Linked DNA regions of Homo sapiens: all the other regions are linked to region 1. Evidence: promoter capture Hi-C in 16 types of primary human blood cells and fetal thymus (Javierre and others, 2016). All regions are on one chromosome and are shown on one strand. Each heading gives the region's core, a stretch centred on a gene start or on the middle of the fragment in contact. The rest is flanking DNA. Distances are from core to core; before and after follow the strand shown.

Evidence for each region. Contacts are between HindIII fragments. The CHiCAGO score rates a contact against its expected background, and 5 or more counts as called.
Region 2: the fragment with the promoter of PVALB here is called in contact with the fragment with the promoter of SSTR3 in region 1 in 3 of 17 cell types (erythroblasts, monocytes and neutrophils); the score reaches 11.1 in erythroblasts.
Region 3: the fragment with the promoter of LGALS2 here is called in contact with the fragment with the promoter of SSTR3 in region 1 in 2 of 17 cell types (total CD4 T cells and neutrophils); the score reaches 6.1 in total CD4 T cells.
Region 4: a contact is called between the fragment with the promoter of NCF4 here and the fragment with the promoter of SSTR3 in region 1, in 7 of 17 cell types (endothelial precursors, neutrophils, monocytes and 4 more). The highest score is 9.9, in endothelial precursors.
Region 5: the fragment with the promoter of CDC42EP1 here is called in contact with the fragment with the promoter of SSTR3 in region 1 in 4 of 17 cell types (naive CD8 T cells, naive B cells, neutrophils and 1 more); the score reaches 10.0 in naive CD8 T cells.
Region 6: a contact is called between the fragment with the promoter of MFNG here and the fragment with the promoter of SSTR3 in region 1, in 14 of 17 cell types (non-activated CD4 T cells, fetal thymus, activated CD4 T cells and 11 more). The highest score is 23.7, in non-activated CD4 T cells.

The regions. Positions count from the first base shown.
Region 1 is chr22:37,211,001-37,214,798 of GRCh38, forward strand. SSTR3 (somatostatin receptor 3) reads right to left here and starts at 1,477. Exons shown (of 2, transcript NM_001051.5): 1 at 825-1,477. RefSeq lists an enhancer at 316-1,295. The HindIII fragment of the contact is 10,151 bases long and covers 1,119-3,798 here.
Region 2 is chr22:36,815,062-36,818,859 of GRCh38, forward strand. PVALB (parvalbumin) reads right to left here and starts at 1,974. Exons shown (of 4, transcript NM_001315532.2): 1 at 1,884-1,974; 2 at 42-174. The coding sequence starts at 1,944. The HindIII fragment of the contact is 33,107 bases long and covers 1-3,798 here.
Region 3 is chr22:37,578,376-37,582,173 of GRCh38, forward strand. It overlaps LGALS2 (galectin 2), which reads right to left and starts at 1,712. Exons shown (of 4, transcript NM_006498.3): 1 at 1,525-1,712. The coding sequence starts at 1,530. RefSeq lists a silencer at 2,039-2,098. The HindIII fragment of the contact is 11,270 bases long and covers 1,601-3,798 here.
Region 4 is chr22:36,858,458-36,862,255 of GRCh38, forward strand. NCF4 (neutrophil cytosolic factor 4) reads left to right here and starts at 2,549. Exons shown (of 10, transcript NM_000631.5): 1 at 2,549-2,746. The coding sequence starts at 2,715. The region is part of intron 1 of NCF4-AS1 (NCF4 antisense RNA 1); the gene reads right to left. The HindIII fragment of the contact is 9,996 bases long and covers 1-3,798 here.
Region 5 is chr22:37,558,445-37,562,242 of GRCh38, forward strand. CDC42EP1 (CDC42 effector protein 1) reads left to right here and starts at 2,036. Exons shown (of 3, transcript NM_152243.3): 1 at 2,036-2,144. RefSeq lists enhancers at 2,672-3,278, 3,279-3,798, 3,355-3,584. The HindIII fragment of the contact is 15,994 bases long and covers 1-3,798 here.
Region 6 is chr22:37,484,317-37,488,114 of GRCh38, forward strand. It overlaps MFNG (MFNG O-fucosylpeptide 3-beta-N-acetylglucosaminyltransferase), which reads right to left and starts at 2,068. Exons shown (of 8, transcript NM_002405.4): 1 at 1,607-2,068. The coding sequence starts at 1,861. RefSeq lists enhancers at 953-1,012, 1,413-1,462, 1,939-2,448, 2,449-2,960, 2,961-3,470 and 2 more and a silencer at 2,033-2,162. The HindIII fragment of the contact is 3,313 bases long and covers 1-2,449 here.

The sequences.
Region 1 (3,798 bases), core at 227-2,726:
TTTTTAGAGAGGAAGAAGTTGAGGCTCAGAGAGGTTGAGTAAGCTGCAAAGGGTCACCCAGCTGGAGAGTGGGAAGCCAGAATTCGAACCCAGTTCTATCTACTTCTAAACCATCAGTACCTCCTGGCCACACTGGCTCCTCTGAAGGCCTCAGGCTGAGAAGGATCAAAGGCCATGACAGTCCTGAATAGTGCAGGGCGATGGCCCCTGGCTCTCTGCTTGTCCTCTACATGCTTCGGCCTTCCCCCCAAAGACACCTGGCTTATGCTTGCCAGTGCCGACTGACTCACTGGCACCCCAGGCCTGGGGCCTGATCCCAGGAGCACACCCTACAGGCCCAGCGCTGGGGGCTTGGGCTCTGCTGCACAGCGATGATGCCAAATTGCTGTGTGACCTCGGGCAAGTCACTTCTCCCCGCTGCACCTCAGTTTCGTCATATGGAAGACAAGCGGACCCACCTCCCAGGGTTGTTTGCAGAGATTAAACGGAGGCGTGCCAAGCACAGTGCCGGGTATGGAGGGGGAGCTCAGGAGAGCTGCCACGTGAGCTGGGGAAGCCAACGACATGATACATCTGGCTCCCTCCAGCCCTGACAGCCTGCGATTCTGTGATTCCGAGATCCTAGAATCATGGCACGAGATTCTGAGACTAACGCCCCTGCCCCTGCAGCCGACCGGGAGGTCACAGGAAGGCCTCCCTCCTGCCTCCCTGGGAGTCCCCACCCTCTGCCTCCCCAGCCCCAGCCTCCCAAGTTCATCCTGGGCAGAGGATGGGCTTCCAGGACCCCACCCTTCGGGACATCATCCGGGCCCCAGCCTCCTTACCTGCCCATGGGGTGAGGGCTTCCCTCCTTGCCGCCAGGCTGGTTATCATTCTGCTGTCCCCTCTCCCTGCCCAGTCCCCAGGTGCCCCCAGGGCACTCCTAACTAGGGTCCCCACAAGGCACCCACTTCTAGACCGCTTGCGGGCTCAGGTTCCCTCCCAGGCCCTCGGCCACGGCTGTCCACAGAGCCTCTCCCATCTGGTCTCCGGCCCTGACTTCCCAACCAGAGCCTGGTACGTCACCCCCCATCTCCAGGACACATCCTGGGGGGGCAGGGGCAAGGATAGGGGGGAGAAGCTTCCCAGGGTGAGGAAGAGAAGAGGGGAGCAAGGGACACAGAAGCCAATAGAAATAGAGGGGAAAGGGGGTCGGGAGGAGGTGGAGAAAGAGAGAGAGAGAGAAAGAGGGAGGGGGAGAGAGAGAGAGGGAGAGGGAGAGGAGACCGTGAGTAGGAGGAAAGGCAGAATGAGGGGGAGTGATGAGAGATGCGTGACAGGGAGAAGACGAGAAGGAAAGAGAGGAGAGGAGACACGGGTGAGAGGGAGAGATGCAGAGAGAGGCAGGAGGGAGGAAGGAGAATGAGGGGGTGGCAGGGAGAGTGACAGAGAGGGACTGTGCCACAGATGGTGACATGGAGCCCGTGAAGGAGGGAGTAAGCAGGGAGGGGCTGAGGGCCGGAGAGCAGGTGTGGGGGGTGGGGGCGGGGTGCAGGTTAAGGGAGGAGGCCCGGAGAGGGAGCAGGAGGGGCGCAGACCCTGTTACCGGGGAGATTTCAGCCACCCACGCCCGCTGGCCTTGGCTCCTGCAGGGAGTTGGAGAGAAGAATGTGCTCAGTGCTCAGGGGAGCCGAGGCTGCCAGCCAGTAGCCAGAGCAGCTCGTGAGGCCACTGCGGCACAGGTCCCCCGGGGCAGCAGCTGTGTCCCAAGGCAAGGCTGGGTGTGGGGCTGGCCAGCCCGGGAGTCCACAGTCCAGCCCTGCAGTCGGGCACACCGGCCGCAGCACGGACCACTGGGGAGGCCGGGTGGGGGTCATTAGTCCTGGGATTGGTTACATCTGGAGAGCCCCAGGCAGGGTGAGGAGTGGAAGGACAGAACAGAGAACCAATATTTTAGGCTTTGAGGGCAAAATCATTGTGCAGTGAGAAAACAGATTTTTACTATTTTGTAACTGACAAAACTCAAAATAGAATAATAATAATTGAGGCCAGTATTTTGTAATGTAGGTCCACTCATGAGAAGAATAGAGTTCTTTTTACAGACATCACCTTTTGCTTAATTGGAGTTTAGAGTTAGTGTTTCATCAAACCGATTGCAAATGTTCATCCGTAAAAACCATTCTCAGCTCCTAGGCTGTACAAAAACAGGCAGTGGGTGGGATTTGCCCCGTGGGCCATATTTACTGATCTTTGGTCTAAGAGACTCTGCCGTACAGTCCTGAGCACAGGCCCAGATGTCTTGGGATGCCGTGCCCCTGCCTGTGCTGATTCCTGCCTCAGCACAGGAGTGATAAGGAAAGGAACAGTCAGAGACGGAAGGGAAAAGGACACACGTCTTGGCTGAGCACCTACTATGTGCCAGGCTGTACCTAGGCTGCTTTCCAAACTGGGCCATTCCCTGGGACCAGGGCTGGACCTCCTTTGTCACTAGGTACCTGGCACTGCAGAGAACTGGAAGTTGAATGCATCCAGAGGTGCCACCATGCATGCGGCAGCACACAGTAGGACACACCCACTTCCAGCCGGAGCCGGCCTGGTCTCTTAACGCTGCCCGTCCCTTTGCCTTGTGCCCGGGACAAGGCCCTTGCTCCAGGTCTCAGCCTCCCATTGTCCTTGTCCGTACAAGTTCATGAGGTGTGGGTGGGCTCCTGGGAGCGTGTCCTCAGGGTCAAGGGTGGGTTTTCCATGGCACTGACCACCCACCCCTACCCACGGCTTCTCACTGCCCTCAGAATAAAGCTCTCTCGCCGCAGCCCACCTGGCACTGCATCCTTGATTCCTGCCGCCTGCGCGGGCCTCCTCCTCTGCTGATTTCACTCGCTCCTCTGTGCCCCAGGCGTACCCAGCCTCATGTATTCATTCACTTATTCCTGCAGGTTGGGGTATAGGGGCTGAAGACTGGACAGGGGAGTTTGAGCCCCAGCTCTACCCCTGCCGTGCACTGAACTTAAACTTCGGTTTTCTCCTTCAGTAGATTGTACACACCTGACTGCCTGGCCTGGGGGTTCTTGCGAAGGTTAAAGGAGTGAATGCTCATCAGTGTGCCCCCTGCCACACACCTCCCCAGCACCGAGCCTTACTGCTCCAGCCTGGAACCCGTCCACTGCTCTCCATCCACAGGCTCCCGTCTGAGCCAGGCCACTGAAGGGGTTCAGGACACGCCACCCCAGAATACACCACTCTGGCATATTGATTTCTCTGCACTAAAGGCACTTCAGAAACAGCAGGTGCAGAAAGGGGGCTCTGACCTCCCCTTTTCTTCCTGAAAGCAGGAGCTAAAACGCCTTGTGAAAGACGCCCTCCCTATGCCAGGAGGAGGAAAGACATTACCAGATAAGGAGAGTCGAGGCCAAAAGAAATCTGTATGAACAGATCTTTTAATCCTTATCTTCCTAGTTACACAATTGCCATTCTATGTTCAACCTGGTACAAAAGCCTTTATGCCTAGTCACTTCTTTGGGTCTTGGTCATTTGGGCGGGAGGCGGGGGGGCTCCCTTGTACATGTAAATGAAATCTGTATGTTTTTCTCCTGCTGATCTGCCTTATGTCAGTTTAATTCTTCAGCCCAGCCAGAGACCCTAAGACAGTAAAGAAGGGTTTTTCCTCCTCCACCCCACCATCACCTTGTACTCCCCTGCTTCCACCCTCGCCCCCTACTCAGCAGAGAGAGTGAGTCCATTACAAACATAAGTCATCCCAGCTGCCTCCTTGAGAACCTCCTATGGCCACCTGTTCCTCGTCAAATAAAATCCACAGTC
Region 2 (3,798 bases), core at 724-3,223, 400 kb before region 1:
TGCAGCCGTGGGCTGGGCAGCCCCTGCAGGCCTCCGCTTACCCCAGCTCATCCTCCTCGATGAAGCCACTTTTGTCCTTGTCCAGCATGTGAAACACCTTCTTCACATCATCCGCACTCTTTTTCTTCAGGCCGACCATTTGGAAGAACTTTTTGTGGTCGAAGGAGTCGGTAGCTGTGGGGGGAAGAGCAGGGTCAAACAAGGACCAGAAAGGCTGGTAGGGAAGCCTGGGAGAATGGGGGGCATCAAGGCATTTGTTGATGGATTCCCACATGCCAGTCATGGGGAATGAGAGGTACCCACCTCCATTGGAGGGCTGAGGGAGCCCGGGCAAGGGAGGATAACCTGTCCAAGGTCACAAGGCTGGGAGTGGAAGAGGTGTGCTCAAACCCAGACCTCCCTGGCTCTCAAGCCCGCCCCCACGCCCCACCTCCACTGCACCCATTGCTGATGATGGGAGCAGCACCTAAGAACCAAAGGCTTTTGTTCTTCTGAGAACCTTGTGCCCAGGAAGACTTTTGAGTGCCAGCTGGTTGGGAGTGGGCTGGGGAATTGAAGGGGGCATGAACATGGTCCTGGGGTTAGGGGGAGGAGGGTTGACCTTCTTTCTTGGCCACAGACTTTGTTGCCAGAAAATTGACATAGAAAGGACAGGTTTCCCTCAAGGTCATACAGTGGGAGGAGGAGGGGCAAACCCGGAAGTCCTGGCTCTGCGCAGAAATCCACTTCGGAGGCAGTGGGAAGGGGGTGTTAGGAGGCTCCCGAGAAACACCCAGTTAAGTTTCTTCCCACATGGGCTTGAGGTGAAGGGAGAGGGTTATCCCAGGACCCTGGGAGGGTGGCTTCCCAGAGAGGTTCTTGTGCCCAGGGGAGGGGGTGCAAAGCAGAAAGGAAATGGGGGTCCTTTTCTACCTGCAATTTTCTGTATCTTGGGGTCCTGTTTTAGAACACCTGGGGAAGGGTACAATGTTAGATCATGTATTTTGTGTGTGTGTGTGTGTGTGTGTGTGTGTAGGGAATGGCTGTTGAAGTCATGTTCTCTTCCCCTCAGCACAGGGCTAGAGACAAGGAAAGTTGCCCTGTCCACCTCCGACACTAGGCTGGGCAACCCAGTTCTAATACCCCTTCTGCCCAGCTAGGTGACCTTGGGCAAATGTCTTGTCCTCTCCAAGACAGTTCCCTGATTTCCCCATCTGGAGGACAGGGGAGGAGGAAGGCGGGCAGCTTAGCGCTGAAGTCCCGGGCAGCTGGGAGAGGTGAGACTGCCAGTTCCCCTCCCCTGCCCGCCTAAGGAGGCTGGAGGTTTGAGGCACTGAGGATGCCCCGTGCGGGCTTAGGCAGAGCTGTGCGCCGGCTCCAGAAGGTCACCTCGCCCGCAGGTCCGTTGCTGAATCTCAGTAAAGGAACTAGGACAGTCAGGGGGCCAACAAAGGCTACCGCCTGGCGGGAAAAGTCCTGTCCAGAATGAGGGTCCAGGAAAGGGGTCTCTTGGAGAGGAGGATGCCCCCTGCAGTCCCCTCTAAGTGCCTTAAAGAGGACGTCCAGAGAGCTCGTACAAGGACCCTGGAGGTCTCTCCTCCGACCCTGGTCTTCGCCCTTGGTCCCGGACCCTGAGTCCTCCCAGCCACCGGGCCTTCAGCACCCTCAAGTTTCTGTAACTTAGGCGGGGCGCCCTCTTCCCCGCCCGCTCCCCGCGCCAAGCCTCGCCCGGACAGAGTTTGGGAACTGCCAAGGACGCCCCCGCCCCGACCTCGCCGGCGCCCAGCGGGAAGTGTGGGCAGAAGCGCGCTGGGGAGGATCCGCCGGCTGCGGGGCCGGCGGAGTGCAGGGGCGCGGGCGGTGGACGAGGGGAGAGGGATGGGGAGGGGAGCGCGCTTGCTCACCGCTAAAGGCTCCCACCGCCTTCTTGATGTCCTCAGCGTTCAGCAAGTCTGTCATCGACATCCTGCAACTGTTTGAGCGGGCAGAGCAAGTGCGAAAAGATTAAAAAGTGCTTTTCTCATCATTTCTGCTCATATGACCAGCGCTGCAGTGCTGCGCGCCGGGCGCACGCCCGCCGGGCCTGGCATGGCGCCAGGGGCCCGGACTCTGAGCGCAGCGGGAGCGGCTCAGTCCAGCCGCGCCGCTGAGCAGCGCCGGCCGCCGGCAAGAAGGCGCGCGGACCTGCTACCACTCCTGCACCGCCAGGCCAGGGGTCCGCGGGATCCCAGGGGCTGCGGCCAGGGCACGAGGGAAGGGGCCACCTCTGGGATTTAGGGGGCACTGGCGTCACCAGCTGGGTCTGGAAAGTCCACCTGCCGTCAAGGACACGCAGGAGGTGCGCCGTCTCAGATCTGGGAACCTTGGCGGATGTCCTGCCGCGTGGGGGAAGATCCTGAACCTTCAGCGGCCAGCCTGCACCTCAGGACCTCCTAGGCCCTGCTCCCTTTCTCTCTCCACTCCTACCTCAGCCTCTGCTCTGGTCTGTCCTGGATGCAAATTTATGCTGCAAAATCTGAGCGCTGAGGTCCTGAAACCTGACCCACCCGACGCAGGGAGGAGGTGGCAGGGACAGGGACAGGGACAGGCAGGAGCTGCTGGGGCCCACTTCGGGTGCCCCATCCCACATCTGGCCAGGGATGCATATTCTAAAACCTGATTTGATGTTTTACTTTTATTTTTTATTTTTTTGCTGGCTTGATTTTTCGAAGAACACTTCTCAGATCTCTACTAACTACTTGCTTTCCTGGTCTCCTGGGTCCTGGCATCATGGGTCCAGACTCCCCCTACTCCTATAAACCTTTTTTGGGCAGAGTAGGGTGGGAGAGTCCGCTTGGAATTGCTATGCTCCCTCCCAGAAAGCCCCATATGTGTTTGGAAGAAGGGTAGCACCTTCAGACCACACTTTCTAGACAACCTAAGCAGGTGTAGGGGTCTGAACTTCACCTCTGGAAAAATGTCACGGTGCCTATCTGTATGCAGCCAGAGACCCGTTGTGTTCTTCCCCATGGTTCCCAAGGTTTCAAGCTGCAACCAGCTGCTTCTAGAGTGTGTGAGCGCTGGACAGGGAGTCAGGAGGCCTGGGTTCTAGATCCTGGGCTGCACTAAGTCCCAGTGTGACCTTGGGTTGTGACCTTCTCTGGGCTTCTGTCTCCTTCTGATGTGTTGATGACGTCAGTGGTCCCATGTAGTGGGACCTGGGGACTGCAACTTAAGGTATTGGCAGGTAGGCAGGGCCTTGGGCTGTGGTGGCCCTGGGTGGTGGGGACCAGGGAGAGCAGCTGTCCAGCTGCCCAGTAACTCAAGTTCCCTGACATCGCTGTCAACATTGTCTCCTGCAGCTCAGCCCTGGATGGCTGCCCTTCCTGGAAACCTTAGGATACCTCTGCTGGCTCCAGCTGCCCCCTCCCTGTGAGTCAGCTCCTTCAAGCCACAGCCCGCCAGATGGCTTCCAAGGCACCAAGGATGCAGCTCCTGACCTGATGCCTCTCAGCTCCAGGACTTCCCAGGACCCCTCAGCTGCCCTGGACCCTGCTGCTACTGCCGTCACCTCTGCACCTTGTCCCCAGCTGGGCTGCTGACTCAGATATGCCAGGCTCCTATGCTATCATTTCAACTCCCAGGCTCAGCTCACTCCAGGAGCCTAGTTGGAGAATGGATTTCCCCAGCTGAAGGACGCTTCAGCTATACCAGTGGAGAAACGGAGGCACAGAGTCCGTGAATGGTCTAAGGACACATGGTAAAGCAATAGCAGAGCAGGGTACACCCCTGGACTCACTCGTGTGGAGTTCAGTGACTCTCTGGGTGATCCTCCCTGGT
Region 3 (3,798 bases), core at 462-2,961, 370 kb after region 1:
TGGGCTCAAGTGATCCTCAGCCTCCCAAGGCTGAGGAGTGTGCCGCTACCCCCACTAATTTTTTAAGGCAAAGCGTAGTGGCATGCACCTGTAGCAGAAAAGGTCTCACTATATTGCCCAAGCTGAGATTTTTTTTTATCTCTATAAAGATCAATGGAGGCCAGGCACAGTGGCTCACACCTGTAATCTCAGCACTTCGAGAGGCCAAGGCAGGAGGATCCCTTGAACCCAGGAGTTTGATATCAGCCTGAGCAACATAGTGAGACCTCATCTCTACGAAAAATAAGAAATAAGCTGGGTGGGGTGGCTCACACCTGTAATCCCAGCACTTTGGGAGGCCAAGGTGGGCGGATCACCTGAGGTCAGGAGTTCGAGATCAGCCTGACCAACATGGTGAAACCCTGTCTCTACTTTAAAAATACAAAAATTAGGCCAGGAGCAGTGGCTCACACCTGTAATCCCAGCACTTTGGGAGGCCAAGGCAGGTGGATCACCTGAGATCAGGAGTTCAAGACCAGCCTGACCAACATGGAGAAACCCCATCTCTACTAAAAATACAAAATTAATCGGGTGTGGTGGCCCATGCCTGTAATCCCTGCTACTCAGGAGGCTGAGGCAGGAGAATCGCTTGAACCTGGGAGGTGGAAGTTGTGGTGAGCCGAGATCGTGCCATTGCACTCCAGCCTGGGCAACAGAAACTCCATCTCAACAAAAAAAAAAAAATTAGCCAGGTGTGGTGACACATACCTGTAATCCCAGCTACTTGGGAGGCTGAGACCAGAGAATTGCTTGAACCCAGGCAGCAGAGGTTGCAGTGAGCTGAGATCGGGCCACTGCACTCCAGCCTGGGCAACAGAGCGAGACTCCATCTCAAAAAAAAAAAAAAAAAGAGAAAGAAAAGAAACAAACAAAATTAGCCAGTGTGGTAGTGAGTGCCTGGGGTCCCAGCTACTCAAGAGGCTGAGGTGGGAGGATCATTTAAGCCAAGGAGGTCAAGTCCGTAGTGAGTTATGATTGCCACCACTGCACTCCACCTGGTGACAGAGCAAGATGCTGTATTGTTGTTGTTGTTTTGAGATGGAGTCTCACTCTTGTTGCCCAGGCTGGAGTGCAATGGCACAATCTCGGCTCACCATAACCTCTGCCTCCCAGGTCCAAGTGATTCTCCTGCCTCAGCCTCCCCATTAGCTGGGATTACAGGCATGTGCCACCAGGCCTAGCCAATTTTGTATTTTTTTAGTAGAGACGGGGTTTCTCCATGTTGGTCAGGCTGGTCTCAAACTCCCAACCTCAGATGATCCACCAGCCTCGGCCTCCCAAAGTGCTGGGATTACAAGCAGGAGCCACCACGCCTGGCCCAAGATGCTGTTTTTTAAAAAAAGACCTCTGTCCAACTTCTTTGCTGCACAGATGGGGAAACTGAGGCCCAGAGAGGGACAGCAATGGTTTTCCCTAAAAGCCCCCACCCAGGCAAAGACAAAGATGAACAGAGTGGGGCAGGCAGCAGGGGGCTAGTGTCCTCACCGTCATGGTGACAGCTCCTGGCGGCAGCTCCCAGCGGCTCCTGGAGGCCTGTGCTCAGGGTCTCAACTCGTGGTCAAGCTTATATCCTAGAATATTACACATTAACTCCCTCAAGGTCCTAGGTGAGGACTTTGCCCCTTCTACCTTGTGTCTCCCCGCCTGCATCTCCCAGTACCCAGCACAAACAGGCAGAAGACTCCTCAGCCAGCTCCACCCCACCCAGCCCGGAGCATCCTCCTGGCCTCCCTCCAGCCCAGCCTCCCCCTCCTCAGCGCTCCCAGAGCCCGAGAGGGGAAGCAGCCCCAGCTCTGCCCCCACACAAACCGCAATGCAGCCGCTTGACAGCTCTCCCAGCCTCCCTCACTTAGCCCAGCTTCCTTGCCTGTAAAAAGAGAGATTTGCTTTGCAAAAAAAAAAAAAAGTCTAGGTTTCTAATTTTCTTTTTTTTTTTTTTTTGAGACAGAGTCTCACTCTGTCACCCAGGCTGGAGTGCAGTGGCAACGATCTCCGCTCAATGCAATCTCCTGGGTTCACACCATTCTGCTGCCTCAGCCTCCCGAGTAGCTGGAACTACAGGCACCCGCCACCATGCCCGGCTAATTTTTTGGTATTTTTAGTAGAGACGAGGTTTCACCGTATTAGCCAGGATGGTCTCGATCTCCTGACCTCGTGATCTGCCCACCTTGGCCTCCCAAAGTGCTGGGATTACAGGCGTGAGCCATTGCGCCTGGCCTAAGGTTCTAATTTTCTATGATGTTATGATTCATTGTCAGAGAGCATTATGTTTTCTTCTTCCCTCCCCATATTATTTATCTGATCGGACATGTAGGTTTCAAAACCAATACACGGATTCAAAGAAAAGATTTCAAACTATTTACAACAAATGGTCAAAAGCAGAGGAGAGCTGGGCGCGGTTGCTTAAGCCTGTAATCCCAGCACTTTGGGAGGCCAAGGCAGGCGGATCACCTGAAGTCAGGAGTTTGTGACCAGCCCGGCCAACATGGTGAAACCCCATCTCTACTAAAAATACAAAAATTAGCTGGGCGTGGTCGCACCTGTAGTCACAGCTGCTCAAGAGGCTGAGGCAGGAGAATCGCTTGAACCCGGGAGGTGGAGGTTACAGGGAGCTAAGATCGCGCCACTACACTCCAGCCTGGGCGACAGAGTGAGGCTCCGTCTCAAATAAAAAAATAAAAAATAAATAAAAGTGCAGAAGGAGTGGGAGGGCTGAGTGGGGGACATGGAGGATGAAAATGCTTTGCTCTTGACTTCTGTTACTTATGTAACTGGCATGCTTACTATAGACAATTAGAGATATTAAATAAAAAGAAAAATAATCACTCATAATGCCACCGCCACGAGGGAACTGGCTTACGCTGTTGGCACATTTCCTTCCAGGCGGTTCTCCACAGATTTACATTATAGACACCCCTCTGTCTGTGCAATTGTTTATCTCTCTTCATTTGGGAAACATTAAAGACCACAAATCTATATTTCAGAACCATACTTTAATGCCTGCGAAATAGTCTACCTTTCAACGACTGAATTTATTTAACCAATTTCCTTCTGCTGAACACTCACATTAATTCTACATTTTTGCTATTAAAAATACTGCTGCATTAAATCTATTTGGACATAAACTTTGGCTGCATCGTGACAACTTATGTAGGGCAGATTCCCAGAAGGAGAACTTTTCTAGAGCTCAGGATTTGGCGAGCCAGAGCGTTTTCCATCAGAGTTGGCGGTGGCCACTCCGGGCAGGATGTGGGGAACTGGCCTTGCCGAGGGCCCTCGGTGCCAGGAGTCTGCAGGTGGCTCACTGCCCAGTGCCCACATAGGACACCACCTTCAGTCCCCTGCCAGCCCGGAGTGAGGAGTGACTTCCTCCTTTCACCCACAAGGAAATTAATCCTCTCTCGGCCTTTCTCCCAAAGGCATGGTAAAACCCCAGTGAGATAAGGAATTTTAAAAGGCTTTCTCCCTGGAAACTAATCAACAGAAACTATACCTTTTAAAGGTGGCATTTTTCTGATTATAATAATAATATTATCTCACTATAGGAGGTTCCAGAAAGTACACACAGTAAAAGGAACTTAAAGTTCACTTGTTTTAAAATAATGTTCAAAAGCAGGGGAAAATGACCATGCATATCATTTACGTACTTTGCTGCGTATATATTTTATACCAATGAAAGATTTAAAAAAAGAAAAAAGAATGGCTGGGCATGGTGGCTCACCCCTGTAATCCCAGCACTTTGGGAAGCTGAGGTGGGTG
Region 4 (3,798 bases), core at 1,299-3,798, 350 kb before region 1:
GCTGGCCCGTCGCGGGCTCTTCCCTGGACATCTTTGTCCCCCAGGTGCAGAGGTGGCTTCCCAGTGGCTGAGTCAGGGCCACAGGAGGTTTCTTGGGGGGTTGGGGGGGCCGGGGTTTGGAGGGCAAGCCATGAAAATACCTGGGAAGGTAAACTTGAGGGCTTAACCCACCTGAAACACACACATACAGATATACACACTGAAAACGATTAAAAAAGGAATAAGAAATGTCCATGTGTCTAGGCACTTTTATACAGTTTTCTATTAATTCCTACTACAACTCCATTAGGCAAGACTGTTTCACAGATTGGTGAAGAAGAAAGGTTCAAAAAGGACATGTTATCTTGCCTGAGTTCACCTATTATAAATGTACTTGTGTTTATACTCATTTGTCACCGACTGCAACCTAAACATCTAAACACATTCTCTCACAGCCACAATGCCACCACTATACACATTATATGGTCTTTTATAGACACAACACAAATGCACTTACACTTGCCTATGCGAGCTGTATGTGTTTATACACAAATATGTGTTTCCAACTATAGGCATATACTACACACACAGTTTACACAATCACCTACAAATTCTGTATCATGCTTGCTTGCTAAAATTGTTTTGCCACTTCCTGTCCTTCCTGACCAACTGTAGGCCAATGTCCTCCTCTTCCCTCAGTTATGGCTGTGTGCTTGCACCTGTTGGTACTTACAGACACCTGCACTAATAACCCTGCTCTGTGTTTCATTTCATCCTCTAGCCTGGGAGCCCCGAGACACCAGCAACTCATCAGACTTATTGTTTGTATTATTTCTAGTTCTTTGGGTGTGAATTCTTCATGATGTGGAGGCTCTGAGCTGTCTTTCACAGCTCACGATTTGTAGTTTTGGTCTGTGAGTTGACAGAGTAGGCCCTGCAGAGTCACTGACTCCAAGCTGTTTTTATATAATGCCTCAGCTTAGGATTTCTGCACCACGTGGGTAGCTTATATCGGGGCCTTACACCAGTGCAGAGGGCAGGCTTGAGGCTGATCTGGTACACACGTCCCTTGTTCCACCCATGGACTGTGAGAGGACCTCAGCTCCTGCCGTGACTCTAGGCTGATGGCTGAGAAACTCTGTTCCCATAATCAGTTCTGACACCCACTTTACACTGAGAACTCAGATTTGACTTTCTGCTAACAGCAGGACCTGTGGCCTGTACCTAGTCCCAGATTTGGCATTAAAATCTCAGCCCAACAATGCATATCCAATCTTGGTTTTCCCATGGGCTGTTGGCCACGTTCCTCTCCCCCTGGTATAGATTCCTGACCCCTCTCTTTGATCCTACCTAAAAATTATGCTTTCTTGTTTTTTTTAGCTGGGACTTGTATGTTTAAAGTAGTTTAAAACAACTTTCTGCTCTGCATGTATGAATACGAGTGTGTGAGCGTGTGTAGCTGGCAGGGAGTTACTGGGTGTGGCTGTGCCAATGACTCCTGTGGACCTCTTCTCAGAGAAGTCCCTTCAGAATCAAATACCCATACCTGTTAGGAGCTGCAGTCACTGACTGGCAGCGTTTCATTCATTCACTGAATATTGGTTGAGCACTTGCAATGTGCCAGGCACGCTGCTAGCCAAGGAGGCAGTCATTAAACATACAGATAAACAAACAAATGTGAGATGACAATAGTTATGAGTGCTCTGCAGTAGACGTGCAGGGACCTGTGAGAGAATGTAGTAGGGAGGGCCTTAATTTAGGGTGTGTGGTCAGGGAAGGCCTCGCTAAAGATGTAGCTTCTAAGCTGAGATGCAAAGGAGGCAGTGAAGAGCTTTTTCCAGCAGAGGGAACACCATGAGCATAGGCCTTGGGGCGGACGTCTTAGAACATTCTAGAAACGGAAAGGAGGCCAGTGAGAAAAAGGGAGCTCAGGAGCAGAGGCTGGGGAAGGCTGCAGGGCCTCAGGGGCATTGGAGGCAGGCAGGGCAAGGACTCTGGACTTTATCCTGAGCACAGGGTGATGGGGCAGGAGAGTTTAAGCAGGGAGGGTGAAACTCACTCTGATTGGCAGCCCTGTGAAAGAGGATTGGCTGGGCATGGAGATCTAAGGATGAGGAAAGGATATCCCAGAGTGCCAGGGCGCGCAAACCAAACTTCACACTCTAGGAAGACAGAGGCCAGAGGAACCAGGAGGGCTTCCTGGAGGAGGTGGCATTTACTCTGGGCCTAAGAGATCACAGGAAAATGGAGGCCAGCATTCTAGGCCTGGGGAAGAGTTTGGGCAAAGGCTTGGCAGTAAGAGAATAAAGGTGGGGCTTGATGGGCCAGAGGATAAGTGACTCCTCAAGGTCACAAGACACCCTGATGGCTGGGACCCCATCTCTGATGGAGCAAGGCTTCTGATACCCAACTGAGGCTTGGCGCCAAGGACTGACATCAAGGAAGTGGATTCCTGCAAACCTGGCACCCGAGGGTCCACTTCCTCAATTTCTGTGCAGCTGGGAGGTGAGGTAAGAGGAAGTGTGGGCCACAGGCTAGGCCCAGAGAGCCTGGAGGAGGAGCCTCTGCCAGACTGGAGAGAAGCAGGCCTGAGCCTCCCCAAAGGCAGCTCCTGGGGACTCCCAGGACCACAGGCTGAGACGAGACGCAGGGTGGCTGGAGGAAGTGAGAGGTGAACTCAGCCTGGGACTGGCTGGGCGAGACTCTCCACCTGCTCCCTGGGACCATCGCCCACCATGGCTGTGGCCCAGCAGCTGCGGGCCGAGAGGTGAGTGCCGGGGTGTGGCCGCCCCCGGGCCTTCTCACTGCTCCTCATAGGCCTTAGGGACAAAGGCCAGTCCTTCTGCAGTCCCTGATCAACATGAGAGGCTGGGGTTGAGTCAGAACCCAAATACTCAGAAATGCAACCTCTCAGAACTGCTTTAACGAAACTTTGAGCTGTGGCTCACCACCCTCAGACACAAATGAGAACACTGAGGCTCCAAGAGTGGGAGTGACTTGCCCACGGTCACACAACGAGTGACCGGCAGTGTCTGGAGAGGAATGCAGGTGTCCTGGGTCCCAGGCTGGGGCCCTTTGCTTCACATGGTGATCAGCAATGACTTTCCATCTTCTGCGCAAACAGAATTCACAGAATCTGGCTTGTTCTTCCGCTAATCAGGGCTTGCCTCAAATGTCACCTCCTCCAAGAAGCCTTCCTGACAGCCCCTACCTCATTGCTGTCTGACCCTTTGCCCTATTTCCCTTTTCTGCCTGGTTCTTATATTACAGGAATAATATTATATGCTCATTTATTATTTTTTCTTGAACGTTGGCTCCCCCATGAGAAGCAAGCTCCACGAGGCTGTGTCCGTTTTGATCGCTGCTGTATCACTAGGAGGTAGCTCATCCCTATTGAGCACCAGGACCAAGGGCTCAATAAATGTTGCTGAATGAATGAATAAATGAATGAATGAATGGGTGGATCTTTGAGACGGAAAAGGTCTTAGATTCTTCTAGTCCAACCTTGCCATTGTACAGATTGGAAATCTGAGGCCCAGGGAGGATAAGAGACTTACTCAGGGTCACAGAGAGTGACTGGCAAGGTTGGGGCTTGGAGCACGGCCTCACCAGCATCTAGCCTCGTCGCTTGGGAAGCATTTTCAGAATTTTTCCTCAGTAGCCAGGTCTGAGCTCTAAGCTGCGGGGGCCCTGAGGACGCAAAGCCTGGCCCCTGCACCCCCTGGATTGGAACAGCAGGTGACCTCTGTTACCTACGTGGAGGCCACTCAGGGGGTCACCAGAGACAGGCCAGGCTGGTGTGTGCCTACGCGGGGAACA
Region 5 (3,798 bases), core at 786-3,285, 350 kb after region 1:
CTCACTGCAACCTCCGCTTCCCAGGTTCAAGCAATTCTCCCTGCCTCAGCCTCCCGAGTAGCTGGGATTACAGGCACCCGCCACCACGCCTGGCTAATTTTTGTATTTTTAGTTGAGACGGAGTTTTACCATATTGGTCAGGCTGGTCTCAAACTCCCAGCCTCAAGTAATCTGCCCACCTCAGCCTCCCAAAGTGCTGGGATTACAGGCGTGAGCAACCACGCCGGGCAACAGTCAGTCTTCTAAATGTACACCTGCCAGTGCTGCCTGCTGGCTCACTGTCCTGATGCTGTTCCAGTTCTCCATGGGACAAAATACTCCTGGGCCGGCCCCCAGGGAAAGAGTTCCTACTGCTGTGCCACTTGAGCAAATGCTAGAATGCTTTGTGCCTCTGTTTCCTCATTTGTCCAGCTGCAGAAATAGCTCCTTCCCTTGGTGGCCAGCATGGGGATTCAGGGAGCCAGTGGAAGAGGCCTAGCCCCTGGGTGAACAGTAAAGACCTTGTCTCCTCCACCTGCGGGTAAATACAGCTCCTCATCCCCGGCCACAACAGCGCTCAGCCAGTCTCCTTCAGCCGGGTTTGCCTCCGCTGCAGGGTCCTCCACTCCCAGCCTTTGCTGTGCTGTCCCTTGCCAGCTGTGCACTGTGCATTTCCACTGCCCTTCCCTCTGCCTACACGTCCTTTAAGACTTAACTCACAACCATGCAGTGGCTCACACCCATAATCCTAGCACTTGAGGAGGCCAAGGCAGGCGGATCACCTGAGGTAAGGAGTTCAAGACCAGCCTGGCCAACATGGTGAAGCCCCCTCTCTACTAAAAAATACAAAAATTAGCCGGGCGTGGGTGGGTGCCTGTAATCCCAGCTAGTCCGGAGGCTTAGGAGGGAGAATCGCTTGAACCCGGGAGGTGGAAGCTGCAGTGAGCTGAGATCATGCCATGGCACTCCAGCCTGAGCAACAGAGAGAGACTCCGTCTCAAAAAAAAAAAAAAAAAAAAAAAAAAAAAAAAAAAAAAAAAAAAGAGAGAGAGAGAGACTTAACTCAGGTATCATCTCCTCTAGGAAGATTTCCTGAGCCCCCAGGCCCTGCAGGAAGTATTAGGGACCTCTCTGTGCCCTGACAGCCCGAGGACTCTATAGTCAGATGGGAGTAGTCAAAGGAGGGCACAACAACGGGAGGCAGGGGCCAGAGATCTATCTCCCCTCCTTGAGGATGGCACAGGGTCCCGGGTATGGCTGATTCCCTGCCCTCCATGGAGGTGGGCGGGGTGGGGGGAGGGTCTGTAAAGTCTCTGAGATGCGACTTCATTTACCTGCCGAGCAAGCCTCCTAGGTGCTCTTGGAGCAGGAAACACTTCACACAACATCTGATGCTGCTATTATCTATCCCACTTTCAGATCAGGAAACTGAGGCAGAGAAAGGTAAGTAGTGACTGAGGCAGGACAGGAGCCCAGGCTGTCCGGCTCCAGGGTCCCGGTCTTGACGGCCACTCTACCCCACTCTACCAGTCGCCCCAGTATGGCTGTCTTCCTCCTGGGCACCGCGGGGCCTGTACCGGATGGAAGGGAATGAGAATGGGGAGCAAAGGAGTGGGCATGTCATGCCTGTAAACATCAAGGTTTAAAGGCCCAGGCATTCAAGGCCTCAGATCGAGCTTCCCGGTTCCCCGAACTCCCGCAGGGCGCGGCTGGAGGGCCCAGGAGGGAGGAGAGTTCATCAGGCCTGGACGCCCCAAGCAAGGCCACGAGGGGAACCGGTGGAAGAGGGGTTGGCGGCCGGGGACCGGAGTCGCCTCCCCGGGGCAGCCCGCACGTTCCCCGGCTGGCCTTGTCCGGGGTGGCGAGCAGAGGCCTGGCCTGGCCCCCCAGCCGCGTCCCTGCCAGCTCTCGGCGGCCGCGAGGACGGTGCCGGGGAGGGGGCCGGGGAGGGGGCCGGGCCCCGCCCGCGGGCGGGAGGAGACGGGCGGGAGGCGGGAGCGCCCACACCCCGCCCCCGCCCCCGGATCCAGCCCGCGGAGCCCGCGGCCAGGGCGGCGCAGACCGGCCCAGCGACTCTCCCGGGCTGCCAGCCGGGACGCGCGGCCGCCGCCGCTGCAGACGACGAGTCCGCCCTCGTCCCGCGCCCCCGGGGCTCGCGGAGCCAGGTAACAGCCCGGGCGCGCGGGTCCTCGGGGCGGAGGCCGTGGAGGCCGGCGGGTCCCGGCGCCCGCGGGGACTCTGCACCCTACTAGGCTCCCGGGGCCGGAACGGGGACGGGACCCGCCCGGGAGAGGCGCCCCCGGGTGCCCACAGGAAGGCCGGGCGCGGCCGCGGAGCCGCGCGAGGAAACTCCGAGCTTTCGGGCTTCGTGTCCCGTTCCAGGCTGGTGGAGGGGGCAGAGGATCGGACACGGCTGAGCGGCCAAAATGCGCGAGGAGGGGGCGAGCCGAGGGGCAGAGCGGGGGCTGTCTCCGCGCCTTCCTGCGCGGGGGAAGGAAGGGCCGGGGCGGGCAGCGGGCGACGCGGCGGAATGTCTCCCCTCCGCCGAGGCCCACGCGGAGAGCGGGAAGTGGGGGGTGGGGGGCCCGGGGAGATGGACAGGCACCCTGCCCCCCTCCCCGACCGCCGCATTCCAGGCTGGAGCCGCGGATGAGGTCATCCCGTCCGGTTCCCCTCCGGCCAAGACAGCCGGTCGTCCCCTTCCCCCGCGGAGCGACCCTCCGCGTCCTGAGCCCCGTCCCCCCAGGGAATGTTGGATGGCCGAAGTCTTTCCCGGACTTCCAATCCCGGCCGCCCTCCAGATTGTTCTGCCTTTGCCCCAGCAGTGCCAGACCCGCAACATTCGAAGCCCTTTTCCTAGACCGGGAAACTGAGGCTTAGAGAGTAGGGGGGACTGGCCGGGAGGCCGCAGCGGCACTAAACGTGGCGCGGGGACCCGAGACGCGGCCCGCAGCCGCTCCGTCTCGCTCGGTCCCGGGCTGGTTCGGCTCTAACTCGGGGCGGTGGGCACGAAGCGCGTCTCCTTTCCACTTTCCCCGTCGCTCCCTAATGGCCCACGGTGCCCCCCTTGGAATACGGAGGACCGGGTCCCCTAGCGCGACTGCGAACAACTAGCTACCCCGTTCTGGCCTCAGTTTCCCCGTCTCTCCACCTTGAAGCGTCTGGACTTTGAGGAGCAGGAGAAGTCAGCCGACCGGTTTAACCCCTTATTCCAGGGACCAGAGCAGGTTTGGGGGAGCTGCCGTAACCATGACAGGGACCCGCTGTCCAGCGGTGGGGGGGGGCGTCACCCAGCTGGATGCCCGCAGGAAGTGGGCTGTGTGCACCCGAGCAGTGGCCTCCAGGATGAGACGTGGGCCCCTGGCCAGCACTGCGGCCTGCGGGTGACCCCCAGGTGAATGCCAGGGTGCAGCCGCCCCCGCTCTCCTTCAGACCCGCCCTTGGCCTCCCCGCGACCACATGTGCCTCCACAGCGACCCCTGTTGGCCCGATCCCGGCTCCAAAACTTGTTCTTGCGTCATTCCCACCATTGAGTGAGCTCAGGCCATGTGCCCAGGCCCTGACTATCCTCTATAGGGTAAATATAAGGACTCCAAGGACACTGAGGCTGTGTGGTGACCTCCTTGCCCAGGTCACAGGCAGTGAATCTGCAGAGCTGGGTCTCCTGTCTTCCCAGGCCTGCACCTGCACCCCACACCGGGCTCAGCACTGGGCATCCAAGCCCTCCAAATCGTCTTCCCCATTCCCCATCGTCTTCACCCCCACCCTGGGGCATTTACCAGCAATGTTGGTCTGTGACTGAGGGTAAATGTCTCCTTT
Region 6 (3,798 bases), core at 818-3,317, 270 kb after region 1:
CTGCCCCGTGCAGATGGGGAAACTGCGGGCCGAAAGGGGAGGGCCTTGGCTGAGGTCACAGAGAGAAGTGAGCCAAAGGGTGAGAGACGTGGGGTAGCGACTCCTGTAGCCCAGTGACCCAGTCCTCACAGGGTTCCCAAGTCTCAGCAGGGGAGAAAAGCACCCAACCAGGAGCAAGGTTCTAGGTCCCACTGGGCTCTGTCCCCTCAGGCCTTCTGCGTGACACCACGCCAGCCAGCACTTCCTCTCTCTGGCCTCAGTTTCCTCATCCGGGGCAAGGGCACCACCGCGGTGATGGAGATAAGACAGGAAAGGGCCGTGGGCCACGTGAGGCCACGCTCCCGGGTACACAGACGCATAAACAGGAAGGCCTGCGGGAGGGCCCGCCTTGGCTGCTTCCGCAGGAAGAACCAGGATCTCCCCAAGATGAGAAGCCGTGTGGGGCCCAGAGAAGAGCTGAGGTGCTGGGGGCCAGCTGGGGAAGAGTTAATCCCAAGTACGAGGGCAGAAATCAGGGCAGGGTGCCCCTCCCCAGGAGGGCCTGGCCTCTGCCAGCCATCCTCTCCCCCTCCTTTTGGTCTTCCAGGAGGTCTCGACTATCTCCAAAGACTCAGTCACTTCCTCCCACTGAGCCAGCCGCCAAAGAGGGGACCGATGTGTGTGTGTGTGTGTGTGTGTGTGTACCCATTCTCCACCTCCCCCATCAACGGTCCCTAACACCGACATCACTAACTTTGCTTAAGGAAGATACTGGATGCGAGGAGGGAAAGGGCTGGAAGGGACTTGGCTCGCCGGAGCCGCACAGCCATGTGACAGACATGCCTCTTGTCACACACATCTAGCACACTCCAGCTCCGTGCGTGTGAGCACACACACACACACACACACAATCCCACGTGCCAGGCAGGCCTCCCCAACCTCCGGCCCACCACTGCCTCAGCCGCCACCCTCGTGGCATGCGCTCTCCTTCCCTCCCTCGGAAGCAGTCCGCAGGAAGCCAACACAGGAGGCCAGACATGGCGGCCTCGGCACACCCGGGGCAGCAGAGACACAGCGGCAGGGGCTATCGGGAAGGCCGAAGGGATGCCTCCCCCAAGAACAGACCCCACCATTCTCCTCCCGTCCTCCACCCTCAGAGCCCGGGCAGGACAGCACCTAGGGCCTGGGTGGGACAGCCTGGCCTGGGCACGGGTCTGGGTCAGGACCTCTTGGAGGCCTCCACCCCAGCTGCCCAACACCCACCATTACCCCTGATGCCAGGCTGGGCCTGGGTGGCTAGGAGCGAAGCCCCCACGGGAGCGGCTAGGAATAGAAGAACCCCCAGGAGGGACCCGGGAGCCTGGAGCAGGGGCCCAGCCTGGCCCCCAAAAGTGGTGGAGCGGTAGGACCTGGGTGCACCTGGAGTCAGGACCAGTACAGGGCACGGGCAGGGCCGCAGGCAGCCCCTAAAGCCCGGAAGAAGGAGAGAGGAAGAGGATCCCTGATTAGGCAGGTATTGAGCAGCTTCTCCCATGAGGCAGTCAGGGACCCCAGCCCAGTAGAAAGGCCTCTGAGAACCCCTTAGGCCAGGGGCCACCCCCAGGGCCCAATGTCACCCACTTGTCACCTGTTCCCTGGTCCTGGAAACCCACGTGTCAAGCAGCAGCTCCAGGCGCAAGCGGTGGAAAGCCCGGGTCGTCTTCACTGCAATGAAGACATCGTGTAGCTGTAGCTTAGGGGGCCCCGGGTTCGGCTGGCTCAGCTCGGGGGTCCCTTGTACCCGCTGCGGGGACAGGTTCAAGTGGTACCGCAGACACAGGAGCCCCATGCACAGGAGGGTGAGGAGGGCTCCAGCCAGGCCCCGCGGGAGCCGGCACTGCATTGGTTGGCCCTGGGACCCCAGACAGCTCAGCCCCCAAATCCCAACCAGACAGGGAGGGGAAGCTGGTCAGGCAGGGGCTCCAGCAGAGGCAAAAGTCTGGCAGGCATCAGGGGCTGGCAAGGAGGGAAGAGGTAGGAGCTGAGGCTCTGGACCCAGAGGCTGAGCCATGGCAGCACGATCTCGACCGCCGCCAGTCCTCCACCTGCTCCCGCTGTCCGGCCTGCCGCAGCCTCCGGGACCGCCTGGCCCCGCCCCGCTTAGCCCGAGGGGCGGGGCCAGACGAAGGGAACCCCAGACAGAGGCGGCTGAAAGGAGGCACCAGCAGAAAGGGCAGCCCCGGCTCTGCCAGCTGCTGCGGTGGGAGGAAGTCACAACAAACCCTCCGTGCCCGGTGGAAGGGAGTGTCCTCCAGCACCGTCCACTCCCCCAGAGAGCTGTCAGCTCGGCCCATTCAACACCCATTACTTTGGTGTCCTGCTTCACCCAGCCCCCAGCTTTTGCTCACAGGTTTCCTCCGGGATGCTCTCCCATATTCCACCAGCCTCACCCACATTCCCTCCACTAGGCTGAGTTCTATCTGGACTTCAAAGCTTAAGGGTTCCCTCCTCCAGGAAGCCTTCCGTGATAACCTCTTAACCTCTGGGGCTCCCACAGTTGTTCGCTCAGTTCCTGAGGTCTTCACAACAGCACTGGGACTGTCGTTCCCAGTTTATAGCTGAAGACATAAGGCACAAAGGCACAGAATGAGCAAAAACGATCCAGCAACTCAGCCGCAGAGCTGGCAGAACCCAGGTCTCTGTTCCTCATCTAGTTCACAGGAGGTCCCCTGAGGGCACCTGTCCAGCTGTGCCCCAGCCCATACCCGACCTCACTCCGCAGTCTCTGGAGCTGCCTCTCTCCCAGCACCTGACCAGTGGACAGACAGAGGGCCTTCTCCAGCCACCACCTCCATCTTGTTTCGCACAAGCTCACTCACACCTCCTCCCTCCTCCACTCAGAGCCTGCACTGGCTCCCATTTTCTTCAGAACAAAAGCCAAAACGCACACAGCAGCCCACAAGGCCCTGCGTGAGCTGGCTCCCAAGTTACTCCCACCCCATCTCCTGCTACTCACCCTGCTCCACTCCAGAACCTGGGACCCTCGCTGGCCCAGGCACCTGGCCGCCACAGGACCTTGGCACTTGCTGTTCCCACCTGGGCCCCTCCCTAGAGACCTGCACGTCTCACTCCCCCACTCCCTTCTGGTCTTTACACAAAGGTCACCGTCTCTGTGAGGCCTTCCCTGACCACGTTATTAACATTGCAACCCCTCGCCGCCTCCTTCCCAGCCCCCCAGGCCTGTCCCTCTCAAGCCACTTCACTGTTTTCTTCATCACACTTTTCATCTTCCAACATTCTGTATGTTTAACTAAGTTTCTGTCCTCCTCATGAGAATATCAGGGCAGGATTTATTTTTTGATCACTGAGTCCCTAATCCCCAGTGCCTAGAACAGTGACCGGCAGACAAGAACTCAATCAATGTTAATTCAACACAACAAAGTACCAGGTGGCTGGCAAAGGGAAGTGGCCCTGCCGGGCTCAACCCTGCATGAGGACAGCTGGGGGAGAGGAAGGGAAAACCAACCCTTTGAATGACCTTCTCATGGGCCAGCCCCCAGCCAGGCCCCTTCACAGGCCATATTCTCAGAATGGTGATGATGCCAGCCTTGGTGATGATCCCAGACTCTGTACCCCACAGACCAGGTTTAAATCCTGACTGGGGGCTGGGCGCCATGGCTCACGCCTGTACTCCCAGCACTTTGGGAGGCCAAGGCAGGCAGATCACTTGAGGTCAGGAGTTCAAGACCAGCCTGGCCAACATGGTGAAACCCCGTCTCTACCAAAAATACAAAAATTAGCTAGGCATTGTGGCAGGCACCTGTAATCCCAGCTACTAGG